3 separate regions of the Homo sapiens genome follow, and regions 2 and 3 are each linked to region 1. The links are contacts of gene promoters, found by promoter capture Hi-C in human tissues and cell types (Jung and others, 2019). All regions are on one chromosome and are shown on one strand. The core of a region is centred on a gene start or on the middle of the fragment in contact, and the rest is flanking DNA. Distances in the headings are between cores, read along the strand shown.

The links. The method cuts DNA at HindIII sites, captures the fragments that hold promoters and counts their contacts. A contact is called where the count stands out against the background at its distance.
Region 2: a contact is called between a fragment that was not itself captured here and the fragment with the promoter of MAPK13 in region 1, in 1 of the 25 tissues and cell types used here (mesenchymal stem cells).
Region 3: a contact is called between a fragment that was not itself captured here and the fragment with the promoter of MAPK13 in region 1, in 1 of the 25 tissues and cell types used here (adrenal gland).

Annotation. Positions count from the first base shown.
Region 1 is chr6:36,129,231-36,132,428 of GRCh38, forward strand. MAPK13 (mitogen-activated protein kinase 13) reads left to right here and starts at 1,283. Exons shown (of 12, transcript NM_002754.5): 1 at 1,283-1,471; 2 at 2,041-2,170. The coding sequence starts at 1,353. RefSeq lists silencers at 1,179-1,428, 1,469-1,538, 2,179-2,288 and enhancers at 1,434-2,037, 1,929-2,048, 2,759-3,008. The HindIII fragment of the contact is 28,110 bases long and covers 1-3,198 here.
Region 2 is chr6:36,256,603-36,259,910 of GRCh38, forward strand. It overlaps a transcript of PNPLA1 not described here. Among named protein-coding and RNA genes, the nearest start is that of PNPLA1, 12 kb to the right of the region's middle. The HindIII fragment of the contact is 3,475 bases long and covers 279-3,308 here.
Region 3 is chr6:36,323,644-36,326,865 of GRCh38, forward strand. BNIP5 (BCL2 interacting protein 5) reads right to left here. Exons shown (of 12, transcript NM_001010903.5): 5 at 2,867-3,110; 6 at 1,640-1,771; 7 at 486-547. Among named protein-coding and RNA genes, the nearest start is that of BNIP5, 12 kb to the right of the region's middle. The HindIII fragment of the contact is 8,343 bases long and covers 1-3,222 here.

The DNA.
Region 1 (3,198 bases), core at 33-2,532:
TTAGCTAGGAGTGGTGGTGTGCACCTGTAGTCCCAGCTACTCAGGAGGCTGAGGCAAGAGAATTGCTTGAACCTGGGAGGCGGAGGTTGCAGTGAGCTGAGATGGCGCCACTGCACTCCAGCCTAGGCAATAGAGTGAGACTCCATGTCAAAAACAAACAAAAATCCTGCACATTTGAACCTGCGTGGATATTTGGTATTATAGAATTAGTGCTATTAATTTTAGGTTTAAGAATGTATTGTGGGCCAGGCGCGGTGGCTCACGCCTGTAATCCCAACACTTTCGGAGGCCGAGGCGGGTGGTTCACGAGGTCAGGAGTTCAAGACCAGCCTGGCCAAGATGGTGAAACCCCATCTCTATTAAAAATACAAAAATTAGCCGGGTTTGGTGGCAGGCACCTACAATCCTAGCTAATCGGGAGGCGGAGGCAGAGAATTGCTTGAACCCGGGAGGCGGAGGTTGCAGTGAGCCGAGATGGCAACTGCACTCCGACAGAGTCTCAAAAAATATATATATATAGTATTGTGGATACGTACTTTTAAAAATCCTTACGTTTTAGAGATACAAAAATATTTATGAATAAAATGATATGACGCCTGGGTTTTGCTTCAAAACGATGGTGGGAGAGGAATGTGGATGAAATAAAATTGATTATGAGTTGTGGTTGCTGGGGAATTGGGGTCACGGGGGTTCATTAGAACCTCCTATCAGATGTGGTTCAGAAGCCTCAGACCTGGGAGCTGGCTAGAAATGCAGAATCTCGGCTCCACCCCAAACCTACTGAGTCAGGATCTGTATTTTAATCAAATAAAATGCCCAGGGGATTCCTGAGCACACTGAAGTGTGAGAAGCGCTGGCTTACTCTGTTCAATTCTTTCCTGCATGTTTGACATTTTCCATAATGAAGAGGTTGTGGGGTTTTGTTCTGCTTTCCTGTGTGTTCACAGTCACAGGGAGCTCTTCCTACGGAGACCGGGGCTGGAGGGAACTGGGAAGCACTGCCTCCCCGCTCCTGCTTGGACCCACCAGCCCCGCCGCTGGCCCGCGCTCGGCTGGGAGGCACCGGGGTCCCGCTGGGCAGCCCCGACCCCGTGCCTGGGCCGCACCTGCCGCAGTGGCTCCGTCGGGCCGGGCGGAAGCGCGGGAGCGCAGGGCTGGACAGGCCCGGGCGTGGCGGCCCCGGCGCACCTGGGCGAGCCGGCAGGTGGGAGCGTAGCAGCCCGGGGCCCCCGCCCTCGCGCGGGGGAGGAGCGGGCGGCGCGGGGCGGGCGCAGCGGGGGTCGGGGCGCTGGGAGCCCGTTGGGCCGCGAACGCAGCCGCCACGCTGGGGCCGCCGAGATCGGGTGCCCGGGATGAGCCTCATCCGGAAAAAGGGCTTCTACAAGCAGGACGTCAACAAGACAGCCTGGGAGCTGCCCAAGACCTACGTGTCCCCGACGCACGTCGGCAGCGGGGCCTATGGCTCCGTGTGGTGAGACCCCTGGGCCGCTGGGGGGCGGGGGGCGGGCGCCAGGCTCTCCCCTTTCCGCCCAGCCCGCCCTGGGCTGGCCCCTCGCCAGCGCCACCTTGACCGCGGACCTCAAGGCCCAGCGCCCTCCCCGGGGCCACCCAGCGGCCATCTCCCTTTTCTCACCGAGTGGCTGAGTGAGGTCTCTGGGGGTTGAGTTGGGACTGGGCCTGGTTCTCCAGGACTGTACACTTGCAAGACCCCAGAGTTCATCGGGCAGATCCTCACTGTTACAGACGAGTACACCGAGGCCCCAAGAGGGGGAGGTGGCTCGCCAAGTTGCAGACAGAGTGAGACTCCCGCCCTGCCGTGGATCCCGTCGCAATGAGACGTTGCTGCCCCTGGCGCTGTGCCCCTCTCTCAGCTCCTGCCTGGCTTCCTACTCCCTGCCCTGCGTCCCGCGGCTCCCCCATATTCTAGGTGGTGGGCCTAGTCCCCTCTCAGCCCAGCTGCCCAGTGGGAGGGGTCAGGGCGGTCTGGGAGATACGGCCCAGGAGGAGAGCCTCGCCTGCTGACCGGCCTGTGCCCGACAGCTCGGCCATCGACAAGCGGTCAGGGGAGAAGGTGGCCATCAAGAAGCTGAGCCGACCCTTTCAGTCCGAGATCTTCGCCAAGCGCGCCTACCGGGAGCTGCTGCTGCTGAAGCACATGCAGCATGAGAACGTAGGTGGTGGCTGCCCCGGGGAGGGGGTGGGGGCTGCCCTGGGGAGTCAGGGGCAGGCGCAGGCGGGGCCTCCCGGTATGGAGAGCTCGGGACAGTCTCCTCCCTGCTCCCCTGACGGTGCCTCTCGCCTCACTATTGAAAGGAGGGGGTGCCGAGACCTTCCCTGCCCACTTTCCAGGAAGAGGTCAAAGGGTATTTTTGGCAGAATGCACTTTGTGAGGTACAGACTGTGTTATCCTACAGAGGAAATTGGCACAGGGGAACTTTGTAATTGGTTCCATGTCTGAGAGCTTGTGGCCAGCTGGGACTAGAATCCTAGTTAGCGTTGTGTCCACGTGACCCTGATAACAATAGCAATATACACATATTGAGCACTTCCTATGTTCTAAGAGCTCTGCATACACTAACTTGTCTAGTCCTCATGATATATGAGTACTACTGCCCCCATGTCACAGACAGGAAACTAAAGCACAGCAAGGCTCACAGATTAGATGGTTAGTCAGTAGCAGAGCTGGGGTTTCAATCTCGGCAGCGAGGCTCCCGGTCTGAGCACATGACCATCAGATTGTCTTGTCTGATAGAAGCAGCTGGGAAAACCAGGGGCCCAGCTCAGGGCCTGGCAGCCAGGCTTTGCTGCAGGATACCTAGATTGGAGGGCAGACATTTCAAAGAATGATTTCAAAATGTTATGTACATTTTAAGCCCATCCTTCTCCAGCAAACCCCTCCCCTATGGCCTCCAGCCAGGGTGATCTTGCCCTTGGCTCTGAACCAGCCCTGTGGCAGGCAAGGATGGATGTGGCTGGAGACCCAAGGTCAGGGGCAGGGAGTTTGCTGGCTGAAAAGCTCCTTCTCTGTTCCCTCCTTTTTCCCTTCCACCCTCCCCTTATGCTTTCCTGCTGCCTAGGTGAGTTGAGAGTGGGTTTGTGTTGCTTGCCCTGACACCAGACTTGACAGCAATGAGCACACATCATTCTCCCCACCTTCCCTTCTCCCCAGCCTGACTCTCTGTCATGATTTATTGCAAA
Region 2 (3,308 bases), core at 766-3,265, 130 kb after region 1:
ATGCCTGGCTAATTTTTGTATTTTTAGTGGAGACGGGGTTTCACCATGTTAGCCAGGATGGTCTCGACCTCTTGACCTCGTGATCCACCCGCCTCAGGCTCTTAAAGTGCTGGGATTACAGGTGTGAGCCACTGCGCCTGGCCTACTCCCCACATTTCTGAGGTTTGAGAATTTTGTCTGAAATAAACAGACAGTAGACAGATTAATAGGAGAAAAAGCATACCAATTTATTAACATGCAAATGAATGGGAGTCCCACAAAGCTTGAAACTCAAAGAAGGGCAAGATGATTAAAGCTTAAATACCCTCTTCATAGGGGAGAGGAAGTGGGGGGATATAGGCAACTTTAGAAGAAGAGTAAATGATTTTTAGGGGAGATTAACGGTTCTGAAGAACAGACAATAGCCTGGGACAAATTTTGCCTGGGATCTGGGTGTGGTGTCAACTCTAGTCTTCCTTTTTGCAATATGCATCAGTTTCCTCCAGTAGGTGAAATATGTGGGGAGGGGATTCACAACAATTTAATATCTTCCAGAGAAGCTTCTGGGTGGAGAACTTCAGAGAAAACCCTTCCCTGCATTTGCTGCTCCCCAGGTACTCTCAGTTTGAAGTCCAAAACAGCATATTTTAGGGTATCATTTTCTGAGCCCCAACAACGCTTTCTTTCTCATGTTAGTAACATAAAATCCAAACAGAAATTGCTTAAATAAGGATATTTTATTTTTCTCCCAGTACAAGACATTTGGCATCAGGGAAATTCTAATTAGTCCAGCGGCTCAGAGACATGATTAAAGACCCACATTCCTTCTGTCTTCTTGCTCTGCCATAGATGGCACAGCACATAGGCCTTGTCCTCAGGATGGCTATCCTTATGACCAGAAGTTGACTGTGGCAAAATAAACATCACATCCTGATGATGGCCAAAGGCAAAAAAATGGGTTATTGCTTGTTTGTCTTTTTCTTTCAGATGTTGTATTTTTCAGTGCTAGAATTCCCACTGAGGTCTTTTTACAGTTTTTGTTTATCTGCTGAGGTTTCCCTTCTTTTCATTCATTATGAGCATATTCTCATTTACATTCTTGAAAATGGTTATAATAGCTGCTTTAAAATTCTTGTCTGTTAGTTTTTACATCTGAGTTGTCTCAAGGTTGGTCTCCATTGATTCCTTTTTCTCTTTTGTATGGGTCACATTTTCCTGCTTCTAATGTCAAGCATCTTTGAACTGTCTCCTGAATATTGCGAGTGTACAGTGTAGGAACTCTGGATTTCTTTTGTTCTTCTGAAAAGTATTACTGTTTGTGTTTATTTGTTTTAGCTAGCCGTTAAATTGGCCGAACTCTCAAACTGAAAATGCTCTTCCCTCTGATGAATAGGAGCTGAAATCTTTATTTTATTTTTATTTTTGTAGAGATGAGGTTTTGCTACATTGCCCAGGCTGGTCTAGAACTCCTGGTATCAAGCAATCCTCCCGCCTCAGCCTCCCAAACTGCCTGGATTACAGGTGTGAGCCACTGCATCTGGCTGGGAGCTGAAATCTTAGTTTAGATAATTTAGCCTTAGCCATGCAGCTTGGAGTCTGTCCTGCACATGTGGGGTTCAGAGATTTGAGCAGAGTCTATACACAGAATTTGAGGCTACTCATTTATGGCTTCTTCTCCTTTCCAGGATTTCCTTCCTCACTTTCCAGCTGTGTAGTCACCAGAGCTCTGTCCTCTGGTTTTTCACGCCAGTACAAGCGTGAGCTTTACATCCTAGTTTTAACCACCCCACACATCCCTGACTAGGGGCTTCCCTCAGCAAACAAACTACAAAAAATTTTTTAAAAAATCCATTGCTATTCCCTTCTTCCAAGTATTGTCTCCCCTCCAATATCCATGCCTTTTGATCACTCTCCAGAGTTTTCATAGTTGTTTTTTATAATTTTGTCATGTGGGAGGTTTGTGGTCCTATGGGAGGTACTCAGCCACTACTGAATGCAAAATTTTTGTTAGTGTCTTTTTAAAGAGCAAAGACATCTTTCTCAGAATTCCCCAGCAGGTTTATTCTCTATCTTATGGACCAGAATTGTTTTCATCTGCTCTTTCTTAAACTCCTTTGTTCTGGGGTCTTCTTGTCCTGAAGGGCTTGGCTGCCCTGAAGAAGGTAAACAGAATTAGGATTTGTTTAGTCAGGAAGAAAGGGACCAGAATCCAATAAAACTTGCTACACAGAACTTTTCAGTGCCTTTAATATGAAGGTTTGCATTGTCGCTCTCCAAGTGCTTATCCCAATCTCACCTGCAATATTCCTTAAATGTATTTATTTGATTTAGAAGTCCTTTATCCACAGAGATTTGTCAGGACTGGTCTGAATTTCTGGAAGCAGCAGGGTTTCAAGGCCACCCTTTGGTCACAATGCTCAGTGTGCTGCCCCACTATGGCAGTCTGGCCAGCAGGTTCTGGGTTGTATCACCATTTCCAACTCATCATTGTGTTGTGAACCACAGCAATGGTTCAGACCAAAACTTGAGGTCTGAACCAATTGCTGGAACAGACCCTCCTAGTGACCAAGGGAGTATTATCTCAGTTTTGCACAACCTGTTCCTAGAAGGTGGATTTCTCATGAAAAATCCAAAGACAAAGGGTCTTTCCTTGGAACCACAGCTAAATTTAGGGCTCAGGGCTTTGTCAGTTATATTTAAGCTAAACTAAGCTGAGGAGTTGGTGACTTTCATGGGGTTATTGCTTTGCAGGTTATCTGGGGAACTCCTCCAAAACCATCGATTATCTGCTGCAAGCAGTTAAAACTGTGTTTAAAGAAAAAAAATACTGAAAAGGTGAAGTAAATATACTAGTAAAGACTATTTTGAAAAAGAAAGATCCCCGCAATCCCACCACACAATGGTTTTCACTGTACAGTCCCTCTCCACACACCCACATTTTTATGTACTGTATCTCCTTGATTATAAAATACTATCAGTTTCAAGATCCAACATCGATTTAGTAAAAGCTTTTCAGGAGAAAAAAAAAACACTGTGAGAACCTAATAAGAATGAACATTAATACTATACAGCCATAAAAAAGAATGAAATCATCCTTTGCAGCAACATGGATGTTGCCAGAGGCCATTATCCTACACAAATTAACTCAGGAACAGAAAACCAGATACCGCATGTTCTCACTTATAAGTGGGAGCTAAACAGTGGGTACTCAAGCACATAAAGATGCAACAGTAGACACTGGGATCTACTAGGGAGGGAGGGAGGAGGGCAAGAGTTCAAAAACTATTGAGTACTATGCTTAGTACCTGGGTGACAGGATCAGTTGTACC
Region 3 (3,222 bases), core at 127-2,626, 190 kb after region 1:
TGGTTGATGCTCAGTGCTGGGGAAATATGTGTGGTCTGGAGGGGGCTGGGGAAGCTTCAAGAAGGAGGGACTGGGTCCGGGTGCAGTGGCTTACACCTATAATCCAAGTACTTTGGGAGGCTGAGGCAGGTGGATCACCAGGGGTCAGGAGTTCGAGACCAGCCTGGCCAATATGGTAAAACCCTGTCTCTACTGAAAATACAAAAATTAGCCGGGTGTGGTGGCGCATGCCTGTAGTCCCAGCTACTCAGGAGGCTGAGGCAGGAGAATCGCTGGAGCCCAGGAGGTGGAGGTTGTAGTGGGCCATGATCGAGCCACTGTGCTTTAGCCTGGGCGACAGAGCAAGACTCCGTCTCCAAAAAAAAAAAAAAAGGAGGGACTGGAGCAGGACACAGAAGAGCAGCAGAGACAGGGAAGTTGTTACACCAGGCAGGGTTGGGGAGCCCACAGTGAGGTCAGGGTTACATGGGGAGCGTCTTCCTCACCTCCTCTCCTTGCTGTTCTTCTGCATCTTGGAGCATGGAAATGATCTTCTGAATGAATTCTTCTGAAAAAGATCAACACGCATGGTTAACTTTGGTGCTACGAAATCTCTTCTGCGGTCAGTCTTCATTTCCTAATGCCCCGGTGGCTCCCTGGGTGATTCTCCAAGGGGGCTAAAGAGCTGCCAGAGGTGGCCTGAGGGCAGAGCTGGTTTCATGGGATACATATTCACTTTACCAATGACGGCCTCTAAATAGACACCCAGGAGGAGGCCCCTCAGGGCCATCTGGAAAGGCCCATTCCCTACAGGTGCCCTCATCCTGCACCTTCTCCCTGTCCAGGCAGAATTTCCCTTCAAGGCATATTTTCTATGAAAAGCAAACAAGGCAGAATGGCAGGGGATAGGGGGCAGAGATCTTTCCAGGTCTTTTCAGACCTGACGGTGATATTATATATATATATATATATATATATATATATATATATATATATATATATATATATATATATATATATATATATGTTTCTAGGCCTGGCTCTGCCAATGGTAAAATAATAATTACAGCGATGGCAGCTGCCATTAGCTGAGCTTCCCTCCCAAGGCCCCTACCCCTGTCCCTATCCTTTTTACTTCTGAGCTCTGCTCTCAAGCTGGGCCACCCAACAATGACAATAATAGCAACAAATGGCACCTAACACATATTAGCCACTAACAGGGGCTGCCCTAAATGCTGCCGACAATTCTAGAAAGCAGGTACTTGCTGCCCCCATTTCACAGATGAAGAAACTGAGACCAGAGATGAAGTAACTTGCCCAAGTCCACACAGCTCAAAGGGGTCACAGCCCAGACTCAAACCAAGGTCCATAAGATCACCCCATTGGCCGAGCCCTTGGTGTGGGCCAGCACTTTCCTCCCTTTGCCTCCTGTCTGCCTCATCAGGGTAAGCACCAACACTATCGCCATTTATCGAGGTTCAGACAGGCAGCCTGGCTTGGGCCTGGGCTCTGGGCCCCAAGCTGCCTCCCCAGCCTGCTGTACTCAGAGGGAGGTCTGGACAGGTCACTGCCTCTCTCTGGCTCAGTGTCTCTTTGCAAGTGGGGGAGTCAGAACAGAAGTTTTGCAAGGGGTGTCTGAGAAAAAGAGAGGAGTACTGACTGTATTCCGAGGCTCTGTCCAGCGGAAGCTCCTCTCCAGGTTCCTGGCTCTCTGATGGGGTGGGAAGCACGGAGGGACCTGGAGCCCCAGCCTCTGTAGATGGGGCCTCCTGGACTTTAGGTTCTTCCAAGCCTGAGAAGCAGAAGGAGAACGAGGGTGTGTTTTGTCTGTCTGGGGCTGTTAACTATGCACAGAAGCTAGCACAAACTAAAAGTGGGCTCCGTGGCTGGATCACATTAAGGACTTATGGGGCTGGAAGACAGCTGCTGGGCAGGGCTGTGCCTCTGATTTACTGGCCCAGACCGAGTTCCCTTATCCCTTTGTGCTTCCATAGAACTGGCTTTCCTGGGCTTTGCTGCCCTCTCCTCCCTCCACCATTTTGACTTGATCCACAAGTTGAAGAGTAGAGGCCTGGTCCCATGGCATGAATTAATGAATCATAGCCAGAATCCCCCTGCATGAAAATATCTCCCCATGGGCCTGAAATTCCCCTCTTTGGTGTTAAGCGTCACTCCCTCCTTTCTAAGATGTAAATTCTCCTGGCCAGGATGACCTAACAGGATGACCTGTTCTCCCTGATGCCCAGGAAGAAATGACTTGTCTGATCCTTTCCGCCTCTAGCTCTGGCCCCATCATCCATGGGCCATGTGGCCTTGAACACATTGTTTTACCTCCCAAAGCCTCAGGTCCTTCATCTGTAAGGTGGGGATAATAGTTGTACTCCATGTGATGGCTGTGGGGATAATAGTTGCACTTCATCTGATGGCTGTGAGGACTGATCGTGTTATAGATATGCAGCAGGGAAATGTCTCACTTTACAGGTGAAGAAATTGAGGCACAAAGATGGGGAATGACATAGACAATATGCTAGAACCCAGGTCTCCTGCCTCCCCTGCTCCAGCTCCTTCTTGCACACACTACTCCCCTCCCTGCCAGGGTGCAGAAGTTGAGGCGGCCAAGAAATGTTGACGGTTGGGAAATCCCGGAACATAATTTCCATCAAGGGCTTATTGGGGTTGCCTAGAGCTCGCTGAGGTGTTGTGTGTGGAGGTGACCTGCTGGCATTCTTTCTGTCTTCCCACAGTCATCCTCACACCACTCAGGGCAGAGTGCAAAAGTCAGACCAGGCACAACGCAACCTTTAAAATGGTCAATTCCATCCCCAGGGAAGGTTCCAGAGCTGGAGGCAGCTGCAGGGTTGCTATGGCAACTGCAGAGCCTGCTCACCATAGCTGCTGGAGATGGAAGGCCGATGGCCGCTGACACACAGGGGCAGAAAGCTGGACTTCTTGGGTGGCCAGGCCTCTGGACTGGAAACATCTGCAGCCCCCCTCTTGGCCTCCTCGGAGCCGTGTTTCTTGGGGTTTGTCTTTGAGGTTCTCTTGAGGCTTGTCTTTTTCTCTTGGGATTTCTTCCTAACAGCTGGTGCTGGGTTTGGCAGGGCCACCCCCAGCTGTGAGGCCAGAGATTGCTGTTGGGGAGAGGAGAAAAACTGGTCAGGTTCATGACACTGAGAGGGGGAAAGCTCTCTGGAGGCAAGTGAAGAGCAGCCAAGCTGCAAGATGGCCCCGAGAGAGGGGAGG